2 separate regions of the Homo sapiens genome follow, and region 1 is linked to region 2. The links are contacts of gene promoters, found by promoter capture Hi-C in human tissues and cell types (Jung and others, 2019). All regions are on one chromosome and are shown on one strand. The core of a region is centred on a gene start or on the middle of the fragment in contact, and the rest is flanking DNA. Distances in the headings are between cores, read along the strand shown. Region 1 overlaps FMN1 (formin 1). Region 2 holds the start of GREM1 (gremlin 1, DAN family BMP antagonist).

Region 1 (6,092 bases), core at 597-3,096, 160 kb before region 2:
TTGCTAATCTAATGGATATTCAACTTTGTGTTACTGTGGGAGGGGAAACGGTTCCTCTGTCCCTGCTCTTCAGCAGCTTTTAATGCAAGTTTGCCTCGTCACCATCCTCTTTGATTCTGGCTTCTTACAGCCATGCTGGCTCTTGTTCTGTCAGGAATCAATGTATCTGTCCACTCCGATGAAAGTGTGGCCCTTGCCTGAGTCAGTCAGTGCTATTGGGCCCCAAAGAGAATTTAAGAAAGTGTTTCCTGTTGATATTATCTTAGGAAGCAAAATGGTTCTTCCTTACTCTTAGGGTTGTCAAATTTATTAAATAAAATTCAGGAGGCCCAATACTTTTCTTTCAGGGTTTTTTTTTAAATGTAAGTGTATCTCAAATATTGCATGGTACACACTTACACTAAAAAATTTTTTCTTATCTGAAATTCTAATTTAACTTGGTGTACTGTTTTTTATCTGGCATGTCTGTAGAGAATCTAAAAGCAATAATAAAGTCAACTAGAAGTCAGTTCGTTTTTTATTATCATTATGCACTAGCAATTCTAAACAATGGCAGCAATAAAATTCTCCTCCCTACCAGTGTAGACAGTGGACAAAGGGTCTATAAATGTGGTTAAGGGTGTGGCGTGTGTCCATTTCCACCATCACTAATGACAACACTTACCATTTAATGAGCACTTAATACCAGCAAATTTGCTTACATCATTTCTATTTCTTAAAACTCCTTCAAAGTAAGTGTTATTACCTGTGTTGTTACAGTAAGGAAGTGGAAGTTACTTTGCTACTACTGGCAAAGCTGAAATTTGAAACAGGTTTATCTGTGCCGTACTTTGTTCCTTTACAGTTTGCAGGCTCACCCTAAAAGCACAAAAAATGTGATCCAGAATGATAAAGTTTGAAGAATAAGCCCCACTTCGTTCTGTGGCTCATCTTCTAAAGGGACTACAGATAAAAATTGGATTGAATTCAGGCTTTCTCTTGTCTCTACATACAACCACTCAACCAGTCTGCCTATTGTAGTCTCTCTCCTTCCACCTCCTGCCTGTCAATATTTTTCAGTTTCTCTGACTCCCTCTCTGTCTCTCTGACATTGACCTAGCCTCTGTTTTATTCCTTCGTGACCCAAAAGAAAGCATACTAGTCTGATGTGGCTAACTGAACTAATAGCAGAGGACTAAAGGGCCATCCCTGGGCAACCTGCAAGGTTTTGTTATCTCTTCCATGTGTGGAAGTTAGATGTATTGGGCTCCTGATGTAGATGAGAAGGTAAGGGAATTTTCCAGAACTTGTCAAGTCACATAAGAGGGTGAGCTATGCTTCCTGTGCTCAAGACCAGCCCTGACCCTGCAAAACGAATGACCTCTGCCACCTGGTGTCTTCAAGTGGCTTTCCCTCCATGAGAGTTTAAATGCTTCTTGTAAGAGGAAAAAAGACAAAAATTAGATCTTGTCATGAGGGTGAAAATTTTCTTTAATTACTAATTAAAACATGGCCCATAAACAACAATATGGTTCTAGTAAGGGGGAAAAGTCACTTTGGAAACCTTTTGGAGGACTTTGGTGGAAACGTCATTGATTGAACACTCATCAAGGACTGAACACTCATGGAATTTCAGTTCCTTTTGAAAATTTCTAGAACGATAGTAGAATTCTTTAAAAGCATCAATTTTAAAGCATAGAGAGAACCACAAAATTTTGGAAACTCAAAAACAGATGTATACATGATAAATGAATTAATCAAACAAGAAAGCTGAATTCTAATCCAGGAGTGATAGGAGGTGAGAAGCAATCCAACTTTTACTATAAGACTTACATGTACCACAAGTTTGTGCATATTTATACAAACATGCAGAAAGTCATACATATTTGTACATAAATTAATACAGTCATTTAAAATGTCTAAAAATGTTGGATGAGTTCCTAATTTTAAAAGGCCTAAAAAGTTTTAATGTTTTAATAATAGTATAAATCTGTTTTACTCCCCCGTATTTGATTAATATACAAAATATACAAAAAATATGCAAAAACAAAAAACCCCACAATGAAATGAAGCTTTGTGAATGGCAGTTAAGTTTCAATGGCATAGGCTGGGGTGTTGACAATAGCACTGAACTAGGATTTAGGAGACAAAAGTTTAAAGTTAATTCTGCCACTTACCATGTGATATTTGACTAATATGGGGGAAGTAAAACAGATTTATACTATTACTAGAACATTTCAGAATACTTAGGACAAAAAGAAAAGCTCACCCCCTTCTAGGAGTAGGTGGGATGTGGGGATGGATTACACACACAGTCAGGAAACAGAATGACTTCAGACTTTTCAGTAGCATTACTAAAAGCTACAAATGCATCAGGATTCTGAAGAAAAATTATTCCCAGTCCAGAACCTTATATCCACCAAACTATTAGTCAAATATGAGGACAGATTAAAAACATTTTGAGACATGCAATTTCTCAAAATACTTATCTCCCATACAGTTATCTTCAGGATGCTACTAAAGAAAGTGCTGTCCCATTAAAGAGGAAGACATAGGTCACAGGAAATAAAAATTCAGTGGAGAAGGAAGGTGAATGGAGCCTCCAGCACAGAGAAAAAGCCCAGGATGGCAGCCAGACATTGAAAGAAAACATTTCAGATTTGATTAAGTCAAAAGCATCATGGAGAAGGTTCTTAAGGAATACACAATTAATACATCTAATATATCTGAACGTTTGGACAAGAGATTTTATACAACTAGTAACAAGTGTGAGGTTCATTTAACGTTAAGCTCATAGAAAACAAACTAAATCAGAAAAAAAAATTCTGAGAGCAAGTGTGAGAGAAAGAGGAAATGTGCGGGAAATGTGGAATAATCAGAGTTTCCATATATCAGCTGGGACTGCGAGTTGTTTTTGCAAAGTCATAATAATGTCAACACCAAACGCTAGTCTAACCAAGTCATGGTACCGTGTGCTATATTGGGGTGATGGAAGTGAAGAGGCGGGAGTGAAGGAAAGAACTACATCATTTATAGTTGATAAAGAGAAAAATAAAAAAAAAACAATAGAAGCTTGTTAGAGACATACTACTAAGCACCAAATAATCACATAAAATTGGTAAAAGAGGTAGCCTCTGAGGAGGAAGAATTGAGGAAATGGTGGGGTGGAGATGGGGGACTGCTGTTCTTAAAGTGCATAGAATGTACTGATTCTTTAAACTGCGTGCACGTATAACTTTGACAAATACATAAAAACAAAAAATCCCACAATGAAACAAAGCATTTGTGAATTTGTTAAGTTTCAATGACAGAGGCTGGTGTGTTGAAAATAGTACTGAACTGAGATTTAGGAGATGTAAGTTTAAAGTTAATTCTGCCTCTTATCACATGATAAACCATGCACTTTGCCACATCACTTAGCCTCTGTGACTCTCAACTGAAAAAAAAAATGGAGCCGATCATACTTCTGGATTCTGCCCAACACAAAGGGATATTGAAAGGGTCAGATGAGGCGATGCCTGAGGAAGTACCTCAGGAGGTGTGAGGTAGTACTTAAATTCCTGAGAGGCCTTGCAGTCTGCACTTTACTCAATGGATGCTGGTGTGTTCTAGAAGGGAGAGCAGGGTATTGATCATTAGGACAGGTCTGGCTAATTTATCACCTTTTGGGAAGCTCCAGAAGACATGACTTGAATGATTATTGACCATGTCTAATTTATTAGCTCTTTCCTCCTTCACAGCCCATTTGTCCACAGCAGTAGTTTACTAAGTCTGAGCTCTGGTACGAGACTGGATACATTAGCCAGAGTCCTGACCATGTTGCCATGGTGTTAAAAATATTTAGTTTTGCAAGCAAAGTTTTAGAAATAATAAAAAAAACTTTGATATGATTTATTTTTGTAAAATGATTTCAACAAAACAGACCTAAGGAACTGGGATAAGTATTTCAGAAAAGCAGTGGGTGTAAAATGTGGATCGGCATGGTGACTTTTGATGCAAAGCATTCAATTAATTGAGCATGGTGACTAAAGGTCACACATTTCCCAAATGAAATGCCTTCAAAGACAAGTTGTACAGAAAGGAGAGAGGAAACTGAAACTTGATTCATCCGTTTAATTAATGGAAGAAGTTTGTGTTTTCCTTTGAAGCTGTGATTGTGACATTTCTAGGTGGGAAGGATGAGTTATGTTGTCCTGGTTTCCTCCTCTCAGTTTGCACCCTCTATTTCTACCCTCTATTTTATAAAAACACGTGGTTAATAGAATGTGTTTTGTTGAGTTTTTTTCTTTGACAAGAAACATAAAATATTGAAATAAAAGCTGCAATCATAGAAAAGTCTGGGTCAGAAGTCCTGAATTCAAATCCTTGCTTCACAAGCTTTGTAACCCTTGGCAAATCATTTCATCCCTGACATTTCAGTATCCTCATATAAAAATGAGTGTAAGGCTACCTGCTCCACTGATTGTTTAAGAGGATTTACTGGGATCCCACAAAGGAAATCCCTTTTCATAGCATATGCCAAATGTGTCATACTTTTCCTTGATTCCTTTTGTGCTCTCATGTCTGACAGCTAGTCCTGTTGACTCTTAACTTCAAAAAGTGTCTGGAATCAATTCATTGCTCTCCATCTCCACACCTACTGCTTTTGTAATCCAAGCTACCACCTTCTCACCTGGCCCATATCAAGCAGGTTTCTCTGCTTCCACTCTTGGTCTTCCTTTGTCTCCACCTGCCGCATAGGTCACAGCACTCTGTTATTTCATCTTCATTCCTCTTGGAATCAAATCCAACCTCATACTCATGCCGTACAAACTGATTTAACCACTTCTGCCTTTCCAGTCTTCTCTCACACCACTCACCCCTCCTGCCCACTAAACTCCAGCCACACGGGCCTTCTTTGTGTTCCAACACGATGTACTTGTTCCTGCTCTAGGATCATTGCAGTAGTGGGTCCCTCTCCTAGAAAGCCCTTCTGCCAGATAGGCCCATGCTCTGAGCCTTCCTTGCCCACCCACTCTTCAGGAGGCACTTTGAATAGGCACTGTCTATTACAGCCTTCGTTTTTCATATTACTTTCACATATTCATATTTCATATTATTTTCTATTTATTTGTTTGTAAATTTTCTCTTCCTCCACCAGCTTCATGAAGGCAGATATATGACCTTTTTTATGTTTATATTTACTGTGCTGGTCAGCACTTTCCACGTATTTGTTGTCAATATTTGGTAAATGGGTGAATGAATGAGCAAATGAACAATGGAAGAAATGACTCAACTTCAGATAATCGCTGACTCTGCTATTAGTGAGAAATTAGATCACTTCCTTATGGCCAAAGATGTCAGATAAGCATCCGTGAGTAGAATCTTTTAGAGGGACAGATTTTAAAGCTGTCTGAAGAGAAAACTGATGGCCTTGAGCAGTAGTGGGTTCCTCACCCACTGCTTGCTGGAAGATTGTATTATGTGGGTGGGTAGAGGAGGTACCATTAGACAAGTAGTTTGCTAGATGATTTTGAAGGTATATTCCAACTCCTGAATTTCTGAGATGATTATTCTTACTATGCTATTTCAGTGCATTCTATAATTCTCCTTGTTCATGAAGGGTTACTGTATTGAATTCCTCCCTAGACTGACTTAATTAGAACAACTGAAAAATCCTAGGAATTCTGACCATTTGCAAGACTTTTTTTTAAAAAGTCAACTTTCAAATTATATCAGGCTTGCATCTCAGGTATTCTCTTTGTAAATGACTCTGAACAATCTCTTGAATTAATTCATGCCTCAAAAATTCTTGTGTTGATACCATCTATCCTTTTTTTTTTTTTTCCTGAGACAGAATATTGTTCTGCCACCCAGGCTGGAGTGCAGTGGCACAATCTCGGCTCACTGCAACTTCCGCCTCCCGGGTTCAAACGATTCTCCTGCCTCAGCCTGCAAAGTAGCTGGGACTACAGGCACCCGCCAGCATGCCCAGCTAATTTTTTGTATTTTTAGTAGATACTGGTTTTCATCATATTGGCCAAGCTGGTTTCAGACTCCTGACTTCAGGTGATCCACCTGCCTTGGCATCCCAAAGTGCTGGGATTACAGGCATGAGCCACCATGCCCAGCCG
Region 2 (5,450 bases), core at 719-3,218:
ACTTGGCTTGGGGGGCAGTGAGAATATATAGTTTTCTTAAGATCTTTCCCTCCTTGCTTTGAAAAGTACATCCCCCCCTCAAGACTCTCATGCTCCCCCTCCTTCCAAAAAAAGAGAAAAGGGGAGGGGGAAGCCCTAGGGATGAAAGAGGACTCCTCACCCTAGAATGGGGTTATCTTAACCTCTTCTACGCTATTTATTTAACTTGTGTGTACAGCCAGAAGGAAGCCACTACTCTGGGGTCCCTGGGACAGCTTAAAACCCTAGTGACCCACTTAACACAATAGATTGTTTTAATCAGTTCGTGTCCTGGCACCATCTCGAAGGGGAACATAAACAGACGCGCACACCGCTCAGATTTGCTCTTTCCAGCAGGAGATCCAATTACCTATCGGTGGTCACCTCTCTGCCCTCGGACCGTTTAAGAGGGGGATTTTAACCCCTAACGCTGAGGCTGTATTTCTGTCTATAAGAGCCGAGATTCGGAGTCGGTCGAGGAGGGGAAGGCAGTAGACGGATTCGACCCGGGAATGCATTAGGGACAGCTCCGGGCGCGCAGGAATTTCTTCACAGCAGAGGCTGGTCACCTGCCGTCCGTCCCTCCCCGCCTGGCCCGGTGACCGTCGCCAGAGCCTGGCGCAGGCAAATAAACGCCAAGCTGGGGCACCCCCAAGGAGGAGCTGCGATCCGAAGGCAATGCCAAGCGAGAGCGGTGGCGCGTCTGTTCTTCCGGAGTCTGTAGTCTACAAATAACTCCGGCCAGCAAGGAGGTGACAGCCCCAATATACCTCCCACTCCCCTGCTATGGCCTTGCTCCGCAAGCTGTGGAGGGGCCAGCGGAGCCAGCCAGGCAGCGAGAGAGAACGAAAGACGCCCAGCTCGTTGCAGCCGCCAACCCGCCTCAGCCGCCAGTCCCTAGTCCTCAGGAGCTAGTGAGGCGCTGCAAGGCGAGGCTGGGGCCTCTAGAACACAGTTTAAGGGGTGCGCGCGGAAGTGGGAACCAGCCGGTGGCCGCTGCCCGGCGCCAGAACGTCTACCATTCAGCCCGGGCGTGCGCGGGGCGGGGAAGAGGCTGGAGTAGAGAAGCGAGCGCCCGCGAGTGCGTGGCCGGTCCGCGAGCGCGTGTGGTGTCTGCCTTGTGAGCACTGCGGGTTCGCTGGACCCCGCGGCCAGGGCCGCGCCCCGCACCGCAGCTGTCGGATTACCCACCGTTCGGTTTTCCGCTGTGGCTGAACACAGCGGCTCTGCCCTTGCCAGTCTCCATCTCACCTCGGGGATCGGCAAATGCACACATCATGGATTCTCCGGATGCTCCAACCCGCGGACTCCAATGGGCGCCCCAAGACGCCCCCAGACCCAGCGCGGCGCCCCAAGCACATGGGACCCTCTCAAGGCAACTCGCCGCGCAGTCAGCGGCCGACTAGCAGGTCCGGATGCTCCTGCGCTCTGGCGGCCTGGACTTCGCGCCCTCGCTAAGCGGGCGCGTCTGCCAGGCGCTGCTGCCACCAGCACCAGGAGCGTGTTCGGGGGCCTCCGGGAGGTGGAAACGGGATGTGGGGGTCATCCTGCCCGCTCCTGACAACTTTTTTTCCTACGTTTCCCTGCAGACCCAGAGCAGCGAGGTCACGGTGTCCGCGGCCTCAGCAGGAAGGACCCCGCGATGGTTCTTCACAATTCACCCCCGCGAACAACGCACCCGAGCCTGCGCGCACGGAGGGCTGCCGCGCGTGGAACTGAGCGGGTCCTGGGTTGGTTTGCGGCCCTCTTCCCTCCGCCCACTCACATCCCTGCCGGGTGCGTCCGCGCTCACCTGTCAGTGCGGCGGGTCCTCGGGGCCTGCGCTTTCGACGCGTGGCGCTGAGTGCGGCCGCGGCCAGAGCCGCCGGGGCTCGGCGCGGGGTCAGCGGGACCGAGAGTGACGCGGCGGCCGTGCACTGGGTCGCCCGGTCCGCGGAAGGCGCACCGAGTGCCAGGCATCGCGCCGTCTCCCGTTTAAATGCCGGCGGCAGAGCGCGGCGCCCGGGGCCGCGCCTCTCCATTGGCCAGGCGCCGCCGCCGCCGCCAGACCCGCTATCCGCCCCCTTTCCCGGTACTGCCCCCGCCCCCCGCACCCCTCCTGCTTCCCCGCGGGGTCCCCTCTCCGCCCGCCTCGCCTCTTTGTCTGCTCCCCCCGCCCGGGCCGGCTGGGAGAGGTCACCCCAGGGAACCGCGCCTGGAATGCACAGCAAATCACATTTTCCGCTCCCGTTGGAGAGGGAAGAGCGGGAGGAAATCCCCCCGGCTGGCGGCCCCTCATTCCTTCTCTGCCCCAGGTCTGGGCTTTCCCTGTCGGCCGCCCGGCATCGCCTGCGTTGGTCCCGCGCTCAGTAGCGGAGACTGCGCTGGGAAGAGCGAGATCTCCGTGGGATCGTGCCAGATTCGGCCATTCTTCCCCTCTGGAGGGAACGGGACTGCGGGATGCTCTGGTCGAGCGGCCGTCGTGGCTCCCCGGCGGCCCCGCCCGAGGCCCCCAACTTCGAGGGCGCTGACCCCGGCGCCCCCGTTAACCTGGCGGGCTCGCTGGCCGCCAGCAGGAGCCTGTCGCCAACATGACACCCTGCTCTCCTCGCCCGCCAAGGGTTCTTTCAGCCCAGATGCCGGCGGCCTCCCCTGTGAGTGTACAGAGGGGAGTCACGGGAGGAGAATAAAACTAAATGACCGTCAAAAGTCAAGGCTTCTGTTCCTAAATTATCTTAAGAGACAGAGAGAAAACAGCCACTGGGCGAGAGGGGTTTTCTGTAGCATATCAAAGACGAATAAGTCAGGAAAATAAAACGTTAGATGAGGAAGTAACTTCCCAGAAATTTAGGACAAAAACCTACCGACGTGTAAAACCAATGTCACATTCCGGATACCAAGTACATAAATAGTTTTCGAAAGATGAGCGAACACTTTCATTTGTTCTCTTAGCCTGAAAAATTGGTTCCTCAAAGAGGCCGTAAGTTTTGTGTGTTGAAGCTAAAGTCCGTGCAAAAATTAACACGTCTGCAAGATCTGCAGACCAGCTCCATCAGCCACGTCAAATGAAGACTTTGAAAAAGATTTGCTACAGAAGGAAATATGAAGGTGTCTGTATTGTCTAACGCGAAATAAACAAAACAATGAAATCCATCAAAAGATACTTACGAAACACCCGTAATTTAAGTACTTGACTAGGAAAACAAAACCAGACCAGAAAACAGCCTATTTTTTTTTTCTCTTTAGTCCGGCGTTAGGGGGAAGAAGCAAGAAACATCTACTAGATGCTGTTAGGAACGTGAAATAGATATTTTTAAATAAATGAAGCAAGAAGGACGTCTGCATTAGTATCCTTAAAATCTTAGTCCTCTCAATGTTTTGTTTGTGCAGATGGCAGTTTCTACACATGAACTCGAGGCTGCACTTTACAATTCTCAATCAGTTGTTGTTAAGTCATGCAGTGAGCCACAGTTTGTAGTTGCCTACAGAATGGGAGCATTGAACCAGCTTGAAGACCTGTCTTGCTCACGTGGGCTCCTGGAGAGATAGGTAATCAGAAATACACAAAATACTTAGGCGATGACCAGTTCAGTCGAAGCCCACCACCAAGCTGTATTGGAGCCAGCTGTTCTCCCAACGTGCAAACTGCTGTACTTCTCCCCACAAAAGGGAGCATATTTTACAAATTCATTAAGTCCTCCTCATCTAAAATAAAAGCTTTAGTCACTTCTTTTTTTCCCAAGACTTATATACTGCCCCAAATCAAATACAAAGAAGCTGAAATTACCTCCCAAAATGGAAGTGATTTTTTTTTTTTGGAGCCCTGACACTGTGGTTTTCTCTATCTCCATGTATCAAATCATGATGACTCTTCCTCATGCAGTTTCTCAGGCCATATTTTTTATAATAGAGCCCCCACCTCCTCCCCACAACACACGCCCCCTCTCTGTATCCCAAAGAGATAGAGAGGGCTATGCATCACTGCATCATTTTTCTTCATTCTCATTTCTCTCTCCCTTCTCCCTGGCATTATAGTATTTCCTGCCACTAGAATGTAAGGTTCATAAGGGCAGGGATTTTGTCTAGGTCACTTTGATTACATGAAGCACATAGAATATAGATTGTCTAACACAGCACTCAGATTCAATAAATAGTTGTGGATTGAGAATGTTGAGCACATTCCCACTAAGATTGTCAGCTGAACCAAATGCTGAGGGTATAACCATCGTGGATAGGATAAACACAGGCCCTCACCTCAAAGAATTTATAGTCTAGTATGTTTGTAAATATTTATATAGAAACACAAGTTTTTTGCCCAATATTTGTGTTTCCACAGCTCCTAACAAGTTCTTGCAAACCATTGTCCAATCAGGAGGAAGGCATAAGGATAAAAACTCCCTAGACCGCTCTAAACATGGTTACATAACTAAAACCTGCTTTTAGTAAGGGGAGAAGAAGTAGAATGACTCGATGTAGTCATGCCTAAACCATGATGCCTAAACCACGATCACTAAATGATTAATTTTATTTAATGAAAGTACTTTCAAACTACTTTGAGGTTGTGAGAAGAGTAGATTCTGCTCAGCCACTGGTTCGTAAAAGTAAAGTCCATTTCCTCTTTTTTTGCCCACCTGTGTTTGGAATGTGCTAGCCTCTCTGTAACCCCAAGAAGCTAAAAGAGGGCTACTCCCCAGGTTTGGAGAATAACTTTGAAGACCTTTAGAGAAGAGTTTTTACTTAGATCTGCAAAAGCTATTTACAGCTGTTCATCCAATTGCAGAGACTACGTATGCTGTCTTGCATAGGATTAAAAAAGAATAAAGCCCTTTACACAGTTGGAACTGACCTTGTATGCCCTTTCTAAAGAAAAAAAGTATTAACCTATAAACTTGATAATGATTAAGTAAAAACATATTTACAAGAGTCAAATACCAGTTAAATGGATCATATTCAGAATGAATTTTTCTTATAAGTTAGTAAGAAAAAAATCCCCACAAATAACCCAATAGGAAAAAAAAATTGCACATGGCCAAAGCACATGGGCAGGTAATTCACAAAAAAGAAACCTGGACAGCCAGTAAATATAAAAAGATGCAACATTACACCAGTAAATCAGAGAAATATAAACTGAAATGAGAAGATACTGTTGCTTATCTACAAAGTTACCAAAGATCTAAAAGTCTGACAATATCCAGCAATGGAAAAGGTAGAGAGAAGCAAGCAAGCAAATGCATTGCTAGTGAGAGGGTAAATTAGTACCATCATTTCAGAAAGTAATTTGTCAATTTGCATTAATATTAAACATGCACTTAGTATGCCACCCAGACATTACACTTCTAGGTAAACACCTTAGAAAAATTTGAACGTGTGTATGAGGACTAGAAACTTGTATAAGCATGTTTATCAAGGTATTGTTTGTAACAATCTTAATGTCCATCAACAAATATAGGAGA

The links. Contacts are between HindIII fragments. The study calls those that stand out against the background at their distance.
Region 1: a contact is called between a fragment that was not itself captured here and the fragment with the promoter of GREM1 in region 2, in 6 of the 25 tissues and cell types used here (IMR-90 fibroblasts, aorta, lymphoblastoid cells and 3 more).

The regions. Positions count from the first base shown.
Region 1 is chr15:32,877,003-32,883,094 of GRCh38, reverse strand. The region is part of intron 16 of FMN1 (formin 1); the gene reads left to right. Among named protein-coding and RNA genes, the nearest start is that of GREM1-AS1, 160 kb to the right of the region's middle. The HindIII fragment of the contact is 6,926 bases long and covers 1-5,309 here.
Region 2 is chr15:32,714,522-32,719,971 of GRCh38, reverse strand. It overlaps GREM1 (gremlin 1, DAN family BMP antagonist), which reads right to left and starts at 1,968. Exons shown (of 2, transcript NM_013372.7): 1 at 1,811-1,968. It overlaps GREM1-AS1 (GREM1 antisense RNA 1), which reads left to right and starts at 1,107. Exons shown (of 2, transcript NR_109767.1): 1 at 1,107-1,427; 2 at 1,608-1,871. RefSeq lists enhancers at 668-1,245, 1,246-1,824, 1,962-2,462. The HindIII fragment of the contact is 12,229 bases long and covers 1-5,450 here.